Regions from separate parts of the Homo sapiens genome. Here all the other regions are linked to region 1. The links are contacts of gene promoters, found by promoter capture Hi-C in blood cells and fetal thymus (Javierre and others, 2016). All regions are on one chromosome and are shown on one strand. Each heading gives the region's core, a stretch centred on a gene start or on the middle of the fragment in contact. The rest is flanking DNA. Distances are from core to core; before and after follow the strand shown.

Evidence for each region. Contacts are between HindIII fragments. The CHiCAGO score rates a contact against its expected background, and 5 or more counts as called.
Region 2: a contact is called between a fragment that was not itself captured here and the fragment with the promoter of ACVR1 in region 1, in 1 of 17 cell types (activated CD4 T cells). The highest score is 5.0, in activated CD4 T cells.
Region 3: a fragment that was not itself captured here is called in contact with the fragment with the promoter of ACVR1 in region 1 in 2 of 17 cell types (fetal thymus and non-activated CD4 T cells); the score reaches 6.7 in fetal thymus.
Region 4: a contact is called between a fragment that was not itself captured here and the fragment with the promoter of ACVR1 in region 1, in 2 of 17 cell types (total CD8 T cells and total CD4 T cells). The highest score is 5.8, in total CD8 T cells.

Annotation. Positions count from the first base shown.
Region 1 is chr2:157,874,611-157,878,135 of GRCh38, reverse strand. ACVR1 (activin A receptor type 1) reads left to right here and starts at 1,806. Exons shown (of 11, transcript NM_001111067.4): 1 at 1,806-2,340. LOC105373714 (a long non-coding RNA gene) reads right to left here and starts at 1,552. Exons shown (of 2, transcript XR_923518.3): 1 at 1,420-1,552. RefSeq lists silencers at 1,245-1,434, 1,455-1,694, 1,755-1,974, 1,985-2,034, 2,125-2,334 and an enhancer at 1,565-1,859. The HindIII fragment of the contact is 1,597 bases long and covers 891-2,487 here.
Region 2 is chr2:157,268,264-157,271,788 of GRCh38, reverse strand. The region is part of intron 1 of GALNT5 (polypeptide N-acetylgalactosaminyltransferase 5); the gene reads right to left. Among named protein-coding and RNA genes, the nearest start is that of GALNT5, 12 kb to the right of the region's middle. The HindIII fragment of the contact is 1,406 bases long and covers 1,192-2,597 here.
Region 3 is chr2:158,459,777-158,463,301 of GRCh38, reverse strand. All of the region lies in intron 1 of PKP4 (plakophilin 4), which reads right to left. Among named protein-coding and RNA genes, the nearest start is that of PKP4, 4.6 kb to the right of the region's middle. The HindIII fragment of the contact is 1,411 bases long and covers 897-2,307 here.
Region 4 is chr2:157,343,942-157,347,466 of GRCh38, reverse strand. No RefSeq gene overlaps it. Among named protein-coding and RNA genes, the nearest start is that of ERMN, 20 kb to the right of the region's middle. RefSeq lists an enhancer at 1,106-1,958. The HindIII fragment of the contact is 884 bases long and covers 1,194-2,077 here.

The DNA of each region.
Region 1 (3,525 bases), core at 557-3,056:
CCAGAATTCTCCCAGTCTCCTGGCACACTAGTAAGTCACAGGAGGTTGAGTTAGAGTGTTTTTCACTGAGCCAGCCATACAATAAGACCACTATTGAAGGAACTGCTTAAGGAACAAATAATAGGAACTGTTCAGAGCATAACAGGATTCATTAATTCATTTATTTACCTACTCAGCAAAACTTTATTGAACACCCACATGAACCCTTCTGCTAAACATTGTGATACATGATGAATACAATCAGACCTGGTCCCTGCCCTCTTGCAGCTTACAGCCTGGGAGGGAACTCTAAAGGTTACCAAGAAGGGCCAGTTTGTACAATGAGGACTCCATGAATGTACATCATTGAGCTTCACAAGCTTTCACGTTTGTAATCTCATTTGAACTGCACAACCACCTCACGAGACAACCTGTATTCCCTTCTTAGGTTAAAAATGTGCCCCAGTTCAAAACAGTTTGTAAGTGGCAGAGCTGACACTTCAGCCAAGTGACAATGAGGGCCCTGTTACATCATTCTATAGAGCAGGGATACATATAGGTGCTCTTGCCTTGATTGGTACTGAACTTGCCTCTCCTGCTCCTCACCAATCATACAGGTACAAAGCTCTCTTTATGAAAAAAATGCTCCCACCTACTCCATCCTTTTGCTTACAGCTGGGGATTCTAGTTTTTTCACGTATATATGCCTTGTATTTCTAATTAGATTGTAAACTCCCAACCTGCAGGGACCAGATCTTCCATTTCCTTTGCAACCTTTTGCAGTACTGCAGTCACCCAATAAATGCCCTCTGCATGAATGAACCTGTAGAGATAAAAATACTTTATGGCATTCCCATTTATAGGTTTCATGTTTTTATTCTGCTTTGTGATAGGACTGTACATTATAAGCTTCTAGAGGGCAGAGAAAATGGCTTAGTGCTTTCCTTTACACTCAGCAGGAACCATGCAAAATTTGATCCTTGCATGCCTTTTTGATGCTCTGGGTAATATTAGCACACTGGGGTGTTTTTGTGTATCTAAGGACCGAGGTTATCAGACTCTCTGCAGCGGAGAATGTTCCTGCATTTCCACTGTAAGCTCCCATGGCGCCTAGGACAGGGCTAGATCACTGCAGAAGCCCCTCCATGCTTATTTCTGTTACTAAGGAAGCCAAAGGCGAACATGGCAAGCTCTGTCATAACCCTAGACCTTGCAAGGAAATGAGCAAAGTGGAAGGGGATCTGAAGGCAGGTCAGAGATGGCCTGGATGAGAATGCTAAGGCTTCTCTCTGAGAATCCAGCCCAAGTCTGACATGCAGGGCTCGAGTAGGTGGCCGCCCGCAGTCGCCGGGCCCGGGATGCCCGCCCGTCCGCCCGCCTGCCCCGCGCGCCCTCGGGAGCTGTCCAGACGGCCCCGCCCGCGCCTACCTGGGCACTCACCCGTGCCGCGCGGCCTCTTCTCCTCCCACCCCGGCCACAGGAGCCCAGCTCGGGCCTGCCCCGCCGCCTCCGAGGAGCCCCGCTGGCGGCGCGCTCATAGCTTCCACCCGGGCCAAGCGACCGGCCAGACAGCGCCAGGCGCGCCGGGGGCGGCGCGGTCAGGCTCGGCGGGGCTCGGCGGGCTCGCCCTCGGCCGGGCGCCTGCAGGGGGCGCGGGGACGGCCCCGCCCCGCCGCCTCCTCTCTCCCCTCCCGGCTCCCTGGATCCGCGCCGGGAGGAAATGATGTGTTGCTGCCTGGTTAATCACAGCTCCAGACACTCATTGGCCGAGCGCTCCGCAGCCACTTCCTCCTCCTCCTCCTCCCGCTCCTCCCGCTCCGGCTCCTGCTCTTTGCAGCCGCCGCCGCCGCCGCAGCCTCCCCCTCGGCGCAGGGGGAACTTTTCTACTCTCTGTGACGGTCTCCCCCGCCGCCCCCGGGGGCAAGCCCAGCTGGTCCGCCCGCCCCGCCCGCGGTCGTGCTCCCAGCCCGAGCCTCTGCGCCTCGGGAAGTTTATTCTGCCCGCCCTCCTCCCCTTCCTCCTCCTCTTCACCCCGCCTCCCCGCCCTCCCCCGGCTCTTTCCCCCGGGTGGCTGCCGCTGCCGCCGCTGCCGCTGCCAGCCTGCTCCTCGGCCAGCCGCGCCGGCCCCAGGGCCGGGAAGCTCCCGGCCCCACGCACCGCTCCGCTGCAGCCACCGCAGCCGCCGCCGCTCTGGGCCGGCCCTCGGCCCCCGGCTCCCGGCCCCGCAGAGTTCCGGGCTCCCTCGCCGGCTGCACCGCCCCGCCCCGCCCCGCGCCGCCCCGCGCCGCGCCGACCTGCAGCGCCCGGCTGCCTCGCACTCCGCCTCCCCCGGCTCAGCCCCCGGCCGCGGCGGGACCCGAGGTGAGCGCAGGTCGCCGGCCGCGCCTGCTGGAGCCGGGAGGACTGAGGGAGGAGGTAGCCTAGCGGGAGAAGAGGCAGGGATCGGGGGTGGCAGGGTGGGCGTCTGCGGTGCCTCCCCCTCGCTTTCATTCCTTTCTCCCCCAAGCTTGATCCCCTCTCCGTGGGGGAAGCAGCCGCGGAACAAAACTGTCTTGCTTTGGGCCTGAACTGCTGGTGGGATATGGGGGGTGGGGGGGCAGAGGCGTGGAGCGGGGGTCTCAGGTTTGTATTGGGGTGTGTGTGAGTGCGTGTGTGTGTGTGTGTGTGTTGTGAACTCCTTCAGGGTGTGCGACTCTGACTTGTAAATCGATCTGGCCGCGGGGCCACGGGGCTTACCTTCCTAGCTGAGCTTGTAGAGAGTAAGGAGATAGATAGGCGAATTTCCCCCACCCTCAAAATATCCATCTCTTCCAAGAGGAATTTTCTGCTGGAGAGACAGCCAATAAACTCTGCTCAACTCCCTCCCTCCCTCGGTTCTTCCTAGCTGCAGTTTCAAAAAGCTTCAAAGCCAGGAATGTGGGATTCATCTTCCGATCCCCAGAAGGCAAATGTGGTTACAGATGTTGCACGGTACTTTGCCAAGTTTAAAACCCTTCCTTCAACACTGTAACCAAAACAGTGAGGCTAGAACCTCGGGCGCACTAAGAAGAGATGTGGGCCTCTGGGGCCGCTGGATTCAGTAACTTCCGTCGGGTTCTAGACTGGCTCGGCTCTGTCCAGTTTGTGCCAGATAGTCTCCCACCCCCTCCCCACCCCTCCTTTCCCCTGGAGATTTGAACGCTGCTTGCATGGGAGAAAAGCTACTTAGAGAAGAAAACGTTCCACTTAGTAACAGAAGAAAAGTCTTGGTTAAAAAGTTGTCATGAATTTGGCTTTTGGAGAGAGGCAGCAAGGTAATACAATGGACTTGTCAATTTTATTGGGCTTTTCTTTCTTTTTTGAGGGATGTATGATAAGAGTTAGATGATGGGCAAAGGGGCCCGTTCCATACATGTTTTTACATATTTTTGAGAAGAGGCCCATGAATTGAGACATAACCCAGTGGTTTTAAAGAATCCTGTCCCAGAGATGCAGATTGCTCTGACAGCCCAAGGGAAGGCGGTGGCAAAAAATAGACACCACCTCCCTTTTCCCCAAAAAAATTCT
Region 2 (3,525 bases), core at 645-3,144, 610 kb after region 1:
AAACAATTTCTGAACATCTTCTCTGCATGTCTCACAGGCATCTCACTCATAATGTGTCTGAAACAGAAACCTTGACTTCACCCCACTCAACCCAACCAGCTCCTCTGCATTTCCCTCATAATGGCATCGCCACCCACCTTGCTGCAGAAATATGGATTCTCATCTAGACTTCACCCTCTTCCTGACCATAAATACAATCAATCCATCAACTTCTATTCTGTGTGTTGCCAACAGATATCTCAGCTATAACATCTTTATACCTCCACAGTTGCCTCCCCTAGCTCTTGAGCATCCACTCTCTTTCTCCAGGATTATTGCTGGAGTCTCCTAAAGGGACACTACTTCCACAGTTTGTCAGATCAACACCACTCTTCTGTTTAAAATCCTCAGTCAATTTCTATGGGACAAAGTGAAAAGGAAAAAAATCCAAATTCTTTAGTGTATAGGACCCCTGCTCAACTTTCCAACTGCCTGTCATTCCACTCTCCCCTCACACACTCCACCTTGGCCTTCTTTCAGTTCCCTGAAGAACACTCCAGCTTTTGTTATTTGCTTAACTTCTAGCATTTTTGCTACCCTTCCCATGTCTTCGCAGCTGGCTGCTTCTATTCCTTTAGTTCCTATCTTAAATATTCCCTTCATAGAGATGCCGTCTCTGACAACGCTTTCACATTTTTTTTTTTTTTGAGACAGAGTCTGGGCTGGAGTGGAGTGGCGTGATCACTGCTCACTGCAGGCTCCGCCTCCCGGGTTCACGCCATTCTCCTACTTCAGCCTCCTGAGTAGCTGGGACTACAGGCACCTGCCACCACGCCTGGCTAATTTTTGTGTATTTTTAGTAGAGACGGGGTTTCACCATATTAGCCAGGATGGTCTCGATCTCCTGACCTTGTGATCCACCCGCCTCAGCCTCCCAAAGTGCTGGGTTTACAGGCGTGAGCCACTGCACCTGGCCTACCCTCTCAAAATTAACTATTCTTTTATTATTCTCTATTATTGTGTTTCTGTCACAGCATTCATCTATCAATCTTATTTCCTTATCTTCTGCATCCAAAATTTTCTGAGGGTAGGACAAATCTGCCTTGCTTACTACAGTACCACAAGCTTCCAGCACAGTTACACAATAAATATTTGATAAATATGTATTGAATGCATGAATGAATGGATGGAGATGAGATGGAACTTAAAGCTTAAATAGTGGAAGAAATATTTCCCTTTGAGATAGAAAGTACAAAAAGGTGGTAACGTATACAAATATATTTATGCACATGGGATGAGAAGTTGAAAATATTCATAGCTCATACTGGAGGAAGGGTTATCTGTTAATGTAATAGGCTAGGGGCTTGAGGAGAATGGAGAATATTTTGGACAGATACTATGGGCAATGGGAGAGAATGCTGGCCAGCTAGCTAGGATTTCAGAGGGGCAGTGAGCACTTTCCTGAAACTGGAGATGCCAAAATTTTATGAAATTTCAATATATGATTTGCTCCACCAGTGCCTGCCAGCCTGCGTGTAAGAAGAGATAAAGCAAATTGCTGGATTAATATGAGTCTAAGGGATATCAGAGCACATGAGGTAGAAAGAGAATGGGTAGTGAGGTTTGAGGGGACTGGTGTAAGGTGGTTGAATGTTCCGGCATGGGCTCTGGGTCAGGGAAAGAGGAAGTAAAGCTAAGGGGAGTTTAATAGCCTGAGTGAAAGGGAGGGTACAGAAGAAAACAGCTACAGCCTATGACTTCCTCATCTCTAACTTTATAATATAAATTAATGAGAAATTCACATTTCACAGTTACATTTTTTTTAATGGTATTTGGTGCTGAAAAAAAAATCAAATCAGTTCTGAAAAGAAAGGATCAATTACACAAATTCGGCATAAACCAACAAGCCCGGCTGTGAAGTCCTGAGAGTTGCTTTATGGTTAAAATTTGGTTGGTCTGAGAAACATCCAGTGACAAAAGGAATTGTATCAGGAGGAGTTAACTAAGCAGGCTCATGCAAATGACTCTTCCTATATTTTAAATTAGTAGAGTTTTTGTCCTTTTTAGAAGGAAGTTCTAAAAAGTGCTAGACAGTCTAAAATTGGAGGTAAGAAAAATTCTCAGAAATTTGAGAGATTTGGGGAAGACACCTCTAATCACCAAATATCTAATCCTCTATTCCCCCGATTATGTCATGGTGCCTTAATTTCACTATTAGTACCCTACATGGGCAGATCATGAGAGATTCCACTAGATGCTAATATCCCAGCAAATAAGTAGTACCTCTGCCAATTGTTGACAAATATATATCTTAGATGTGTTTAAAGAATTACAATGAAGAAATTCTGTGGAAGATTATATGGTACAGATCATATTAGTGCCTGGTAAAAGCAATATTACAGGATGGGAAAGAGGGACCCAAAAGAGATGCCTGAGATTTCCAATACAAAGTTTCAGGGTGTGCCTTGATTTGGGGTGACTGACATGTCAAGGCACTCTGACATTTACAGAGACCTGTTCTCCTGCATTACTAAACAGATTAAACATGTTTCCGGGTATCTAGCAAAACTAGTGTGCTTGTTTTGTTCAAAGGAACAGTGGGAAACCCCCGCAAAGCTTTCAGCATTTTAAACTCTTACTCTAGTCTTTCATACTGGAAGAAAGGTTACTTGCTAATGTAATAGGGTAGGGGCTTGAGGAGAATGGAGAATATTCTGGGCAGACACTATGTCATCTAGTTGGCATAGGTTGTAAAAACCATTTCAAGTTATCCTACACCAACCTAATTCAAGCAAGTTTCCTTTATTTCAGTTTTTCCTTAATTTCTGCCTATATCATGGGAGGAGAAATTGCTGCTAAAGTCTAATTTGAATGCCAGATATTTCTAGGTTTGTAACTTTTTTGAGGCTAAGAAATCACATTTATATTCTATATGCCTATTTATTATACAAATTAGGTATTTAGAGTCTACTGGTCCCATGCTATACTTAAAAAATTAATCCAATCTCTTTGTCTTGGGGGGGAATCTAGGCTTAGATTACTGCAGCCAATCCAAGTTCTAAAAACAAATGGGGCCTCTAATGTGGGGAGTTTCACTATCCTGCACTTAGCTGACATACTACTGTGGTGGACAGAAAGACTCTGGACTTGAGAAAGATGACAAGAGACTAAGTTTTTAGTTCATTCTAGCATTTATTGGCCCTATGGCCATGGGCAAGTCAGTTAGGCCCCTAGAACCTTAGTTTCCTCACTTTTAGGATGAAGATTACAATGCCTTCATCACAGAACAGTGGTGAAGATTTGATGAGATAATGGATGTAAAAATATTTTGTGAGCTTCATGCTGAAAAACTCATGTGAGAACCTACGATTACCCATAATGCAAATACACACATTTTGAGGGAGCACACTGCCTTTTTCTGAAGCAGTCCTTTAATCTGAATCTATCAAGTGCTCAACCATTTATCGAGAGACCCAGAAAGTGATGCGTCCCACCCTCCTGGCTTCTGTGTGCTGAATGCTGAGCCACTAACCTGATTTGAATGTA
Region 3 (3,525 bases), core at 353-2,852, 590 kb before region 1:
TGACTAGCAAAGACATTTTATAAAATGACTACTACCTGGGATTACAAACGCAATAATTGTATACATTCTCCTATACTTGTTGGCTAGCGGTGGTTAATGCCTCTCTAAGTATTGCCTACCGCAAGAAGCTACAACTTCCCTACTTAAAAAGGCCCTTAATTACTGTGCTGGATTCTCTTTTCTACAATGTCCTGCAAACTATCAAGCTCACAATGGTTTCTGTTCAGCAGTTTATTTCTTCTCTGAAATATCCTGTTGAAATCCATAATCATTTTGACAAAACCCACACAGAAAGCAAGCCAATAATTTCCCTGGCATTTGGTAAATGCTGCAGAAACCATCATAAAAGCACCACAATGTAAAAATAATTATTTCAATGTATTAAGCGCTGGCTCTGAACCAGCTCCTGTTGTAAGCACTTTACATGTATTAATTCATTTAATCTCCCCAACAACCATATGAAGTGGGTACTTTTATCACTCCATCCTACAGATGAGCAAAACGAGGACCACAGAGATTATACAATCTGCCAGGTTACACAGCCAGCAAGTTGCAGTGCCAGAATTGGACCCTGACAGTAAGGCTGCTAATCATGACACCTCACTACCTTAATGACACTTCATGAGCCTCACTGAGTATGAAGGTGAAATCCCAAGCACTTTCCCTGGCCAAAACTACCATATGTAATCTCAGACTAGGGTAGAGGCAGACAGCAAGACTTTGAAAACATGTGCTTCATCCCTTCCCCTCACTTCCCAAAATGATATTGTTTTAAAACAAAACAATTAAAAATGAATGTGAAGAAGGTTCAAAAGTCTCAAAAGAGAAATTCAACTTCCTTGTTGCCATGATTTGAGGTACAAGGGGAAACAGGGCTGATTATGTATATTCAAGCTTGGAAAAGTTTTTTGTTCTTTTTTTTTTCTTAAGAAAAATTTTTAAAAACCACTGTGAACTTCAGGAATCTTGAGCTAAAATATAACTTAGATCAATATAATCCAAATTGTATTTTTAAAAGGAGGAAGCTATCATCCAAACATTAAATGGTTTGTCAAGGTAATAAGGTTTAATGGCAGATCTCCTAATTTCTGATTTGGGATGCTTTTTACTTCCCTCATGCTTGCAATTCAGACACAGCTTGCAATGGGCCAAAACTTCAGATACCACCTAGCCAGTGTTTCAAAAGTCTATTTGTAAACTGATTGTGGGTTTCTATGAAAAACTGCATTCCAAGTTTCGGGCCAGGCCCCAAAAGCCTGCATAGTACCCTGATAGCCTCACTTCAAATACATATTTTACCTAACCTTCATATACAGTATCATTTTTGTGTCAAACCCCATACCTGTTTTAAATTCAACCTGGAATACAGGACACCAATGTCTACATTTTATGTACATGGTCTCAGGCCATAAGGAGCTTCCTCTGCCTTGCCAAGCTCACAGATGTGGTGATGGCATAGTGTGTGTGTGTTGTGGCAGGGTGGTGGGGGCAGTGTAGGGGCACAGATGAAGGAAGAGCAGTACTAACACCATTAAATATTTGCAACTCACCCAATTTATATTTAGTGGAGAGGAAACTATAGAAGTCAAACATGCCTCAGATGTCAAAGAAAGGTGCTTCCCCTGGCCCCCTCCCTCCCTACCCTATATTGTGAGTTCTGGATTTTGTGAAGACTGTATTATTCTATATCTAGCTACCTGGATTGGCACCCACCCAGTCACCAGGCATTATTCCATTCAGGAAAAATGCTTTGCAATCACATGACTTACAATAACTCAGACACTTCCACATTTTAATTTATATATTTGGTAGTAATAAAATCTCACAATACAATCCCTAACAACATTTTATCAGCTGCAATGAATCATTATATATGAGTCATAATAAACTATAATGTTATCAAGACTATGAATAATAAAATGATCAGTGATATAGCCAACATTTATTGGTATATCAAACAAATCTGAATTATGAAAAGGAAAAACAACAGGTCAATGATGAAGAAAATGTCTGCAACATTCCTAAGTTTAATTGAAGATCACCATCATGTAACATCCCCAATTTAGTAATGGTAACATAGCACACTAAATTAAGATAATTCCACTGAATTATTAAAGTGACAAGGTAAGAAATATTTGAATGTTATGCAACTTCTGAACTGAAACCAGCAAGTACATGAATTACTGTTCTTGGCAACTTAGAGCCTGATTACCTTACCTTGAAATAACCCTGTTATTTCTTATCACTGAGCATCGAACTGACCTGCTGACTGCTATCATCACTTCCATTGATGTAAGAATGAAAGCTTACATCCACGTATCTTAAAAGTTTTCCTTCTTTTCTCTATTTGCAGCTGTCTGTAGTGTTGTCTGGCTGTGAAATAGTTATTTAATTCTCCAAACATACCTAGTCCTCTGGTGTTATGTTTCAGATTCTTCTTCCCCCTTCAGTGCAGGAAGGGCACTACAGAATCATTTCACACATTGAAGGAGTAACTATCTCCCTGTACACTTGAAGGCGTGAAGGCAAACTTCCCAAACTGACATACAATACCATAGGCATTTATGCCCTAAAATAACCCTATAGTAACCTCTATTTTACCTTCCATTTAAGAATGAAGATATGATGTCCATTTTAGAATTAAGCAAGGTAGGGAATTACTGCTCAATTGAAACAGAAAGAAAAACACATTAGATTACAGAGCATTCTCAAAATACCTTAATATTTCAAAAGAGTCAGGTAAGAGACTAGACTTACCTGATGGTTGGCATCATCCAGGGTATGAATATTATTTAAATTGATCCCTGGGTAACAGCATGGAAATTACTAAGGTCAAAAATTGCCAATAATTGCATTTTCAAAAATTAAAGCGAGTTTCAAATTTTTACATTAAATTTACTTTGCCTATTTACAAGAAAAGGAAGAAAACTGCGATTCTAATTTAAACCTAATCCAAATACTCAAGGTCATAGAAATGCTAAAATTTTTATTAAACTGAATTTGGTAGTAGTTTCTTTAAATTCATATCATGTCAGAACTAGTCACAAAATTAGATTTGATTTATTCAGCTTATAAATGCATTACTGCTGCAATAATGTATATAATTTTACTTTCTGGCTGAATACTAGCTGCCCCTAGTTTCTTCTTCCCTTGTTTTCCATCAATACTCTGCTCCCTTATCTCCCTCCAAAAACAATACAGGTAAAAATTAAAATAATTGGATATTTAGCTTTCCCAACTTAGACTCTTCAGTATAATACATAAGACACCAGATGCAGCACCCTCTCCTTACATAATAGTAGGGGGTGGGGAGGGAATGCACTTTGGTCAAAATACAATTTCGGTTATTTTCAATTGTGTAGGATCACTAGTTGAAAAACTTCCACTCTTTGAATATCTGTAACAAATAGAAAGCATTTCTAACTGAAAGGTTACCTTTACCTGAAGCAGGCAAAACTATCTGCACAGCCAATCGTGTGTGTGTGTGTCGTGTGTGTGTGTGTGTGTGTGTGATCCATACATCTG
Region 4 (3,525 bases), core at 386-2,885, 530 kb after region 1:
TTTTTTTTTTTTTTTTTTTTTTAAGATGGAGTCTTGCTCTTTCACCCAGGCTGGAGTTCAATGGCATGATCTTGGCTCACTGCAAGCTTCACCACCTGTGTTCAAGCAATTCTCCTGCCTCAGCCTCCCGAGTAGCTGGGACTACAGGCGTGTGCCACCATGCCTGGCTAATTTTTGTATTTTTAGTAGAAATGAGGTTTTGTCATGTTAGCCAGGCTGATCTGAACTCCTGACCTCAGGTTATCCGCCTGCCTTGGCCTCCTAAAGTGCCAAGATTACAGGTGTGAGCCACCATACCCGGCTCTCCTTCACTTTGGAAGGACAATTTGACTGGATATAGAATTCAAGCTTGTTGGGTTTTTTTGCTTTCAAGACTTTAAATATTTTATGCTACTGTCCTTTTGTTTATATAGTTTCTGATGAGAAGTCTATTATAATTGTTATTTTCATTCATCTAAGGCAAAGTTTTCTCCCCCTCTAGCTTCTTTCATAATATTTTCTTCGTGTCTGGTTTTCTGCAGTTAGTTTTGTTTTTGGTATTTATTTGGCTTGATATTCTCTGATATTCCTGAATTTGTGATGTGGTGACTGTCATTAATTTTGGAAAGTTTTTAACCATTACTACTTCAGCTATTTCTTTTTCTCTGTTCTCTTTAATTTTTTCCTTCTGATATTCCAATTACATGTATGTTATAGCTTTTAAAATTGTTTACAGTTCTTAGCGGATATGTGATTTTTAAAAAATTCTTTTTTTCTCTTTGCATTTCAGTTTGCTATTGATGATCTTCAATCTCACTGATAGTTTTTTTCTCAGCTGTCTTTGTTTTTTATTTTGATCATCTGTTTTGATTCTTAGAGTTTCCATCTCGCTGCTTACTTTACTCATCTCTTCTTTCATGTTGTCTACTTTTTCTATTAAAGCCCTTAACGTATTAATTATAGTTATGATATTGTAAATTCCATGTCTGATCATATCATCATCTGTGTCATAGCTGAGCCTGATTCTCGTGATTGCTTTGTTTCCTTAGACTGTGTGTGTTTGTTTTTTCTTGGCCTGCTTTGTAATTTTTTGTTCAAACCAGAGAGGAAAATAGACAAATAGGCAAGTAGGCCTTTATTGTGAGGATTTATGTTAATCTGGCTAAGTGCTGGGCTATGTTTACTGTTTGCTATTGGTGTGGATGTCAGAAGCTTCAGATTCTTCCTTAATTTTGTCTCTCACCTTGACTTTAGGCTTCCCTAAGTACTTCTCAGAATCTCTGTTTTGCAGATTTTTCAACTGTAATCCACTGTCATACGGGAGCCCTATTGCTGAGGTGAGAAGGTTCTGGGAGGTAGAAGCATTCCATAATCTTGTTAAAACTCCATCTTTTGTGGGGGTTGGGGGCATGTTTCTGAACTGTCAGCTTCACAAGTGTTTCTCCAGTGGCATAGCTTTTAAATTTTTCCCTTAGTGGGGACTAGAAAGCTAGAGAAGACAGGGGAGAGAGAGGAATGCCTTTCCTCCCTTCCTTCTGGAATAAGGCTCTGGGAAAGTCTTTCACCCTGCAAAGTAGGCCTTTGTTATGGAGAACTCTCCAAGGGGATTTCATCCTCTTTTCCTGCCAAATCCAGGGAAGGATCTTTCTCACATCCTTACTATGAGAATTTGGCCATGTTCTTGGAGGTAAAGCTCACAAATGTGTGAGGGTACCCTTAGAACGGTGGCCCCCCTGAGCTTTTTTTCTCACATGAGTCCACACACAGCCTCCAGCAATTTGCCAACATTACCATGTAAATGCTCCTAACAATTTATGGCTCCAGCACCTTCTTTTCCAGGTAAGTAGATCCCAGCAGCTTCTTTTCCACGTAAGCAGATCCCACCTGTGTCTCTAGATACACCTGTCTCTCCAAATTTGGGGTAGTGTTTTGCCCTGAAACTTCAGTTATTTGATGGGTCCAAGAAAAGTCATTGTTTTTGTTTATCTAGCTTGTTGTTGTTATTGTAGGAATGGAAGTGGTGACTTCTCATCTGATTACTGTTATGTGCGTCCATGTGAAGAGACCACCACACAGGCTTTGTGTGAGCAATAAAGCTTTTTAATCACCTGGGTGCAGGCAGTCTGAATCCAAAAAAGGAGTCAGCAAAGGGAGATAGGAGTGGGGCAGTTTTATGGGATGTGGGTAGGTAGTGGAAAATTAGACTTAAAGGGGGTTGTTCTCTTGTGGGCAGGGGCAGGGGTCACAAGGTGCTCAGTGGGGAGCTCCTGAGATTCACTGTCCAGGAGAAGGAATGTGACAAGGTCAATTGATCAGTTAGGGTGGGGCAGGAACAAATCACAATGGTGGAATGTCATCAGTTAAGGCAGGAACTGGCTATTTTCACTTCTTTTGTGGTTCTTCAGTTGCTTCAGGCCATCTGGATATATATGTGCAGGTCACAGGGGATATGATGGCTTAGCTAGGGCTCAGAGGCCTGAAATTCCTGTCTTCTTATGTTAATAAGAAAAACAAAACAAAGTAGTGGTGAAGTGTTGGGGTGGTGAAAATTTTGGGGGATGGTATGGAGAGATAATGGGTGATGTTTCTCAGGGCTGCTTCAGGTGGGATTAGGGGCAGCATGGGAACCTAGAGTGGGAGAGATTAAACTGGAGAAAGATTTTGGGGTAAAGGTTGGTGTTGTGGGGTTGTTAGAAGGAGCATTTGTCATATAGAATGATTGGTGATGGCCTGAATGCAGTTTTGTATGAACTGAGAAACTAAACGGAAGACACAAGGTCCAAATAAGAGAAGGAGAAAAAGAGGTATTAAAGGACTAAGAATTGGGAGGACCCAAGACATCCAATTAGAGAGTGCCCAAGGGAGTTTAGCATAATTATTTTGTTGGTTAGCGAGTTTTGGGGCTCTATCCTTGAGTTTTTTTATGTTGTCATATACCAGGCCAGATTGTTTTAGGTAAAAACAACACTCCTCATTTAAAAACATACAGAGACCTCCTTTTTCAGCAGTGAGTAAATTGAGGCCTCAGAAGTTCTGGAGGACAACTGCAGCTAAAGAGTCAACCTGGGCTTGGAGGACAGATAAAGTTTGTGATATATCTGTAATGCTAGCAGAGAAGTCATTATAGAGGCTGCAGAATGTTGTGACAGAAGTTGATATGCCTGCTATTCCAGTTCCAAGTGCAATAGTGGAGGCAGAAAAGTTCTAGACCCACAAGTAAAGGGATAACTGGGATGACTCTTTTTGTTGTGTTGGTGTCATGAGGGGGACAGGCAGTTGTTCATTCCTATCTGCAAACTGGATTTTGGGGGTAAGGAAGACTAGAGTACATGTGCCCATCCAGTTGGCAGGTAGGTGCATGTAGGTGGAAGAACCACATAAAAGAAGAGACCTTGTGTCAGGCAGAACTGGAAATGTAAAGTGAAAAGGTGAGAGGGTGTACTGAAAGAGGAGTCCTGCACCCAAAATCCTAGAGCTCCAGCAAGGGCAGCAGCCATTAGAGGTTGTAATGGGGATGGATAGTGCAACTCATAGAGGGAGAGGTTT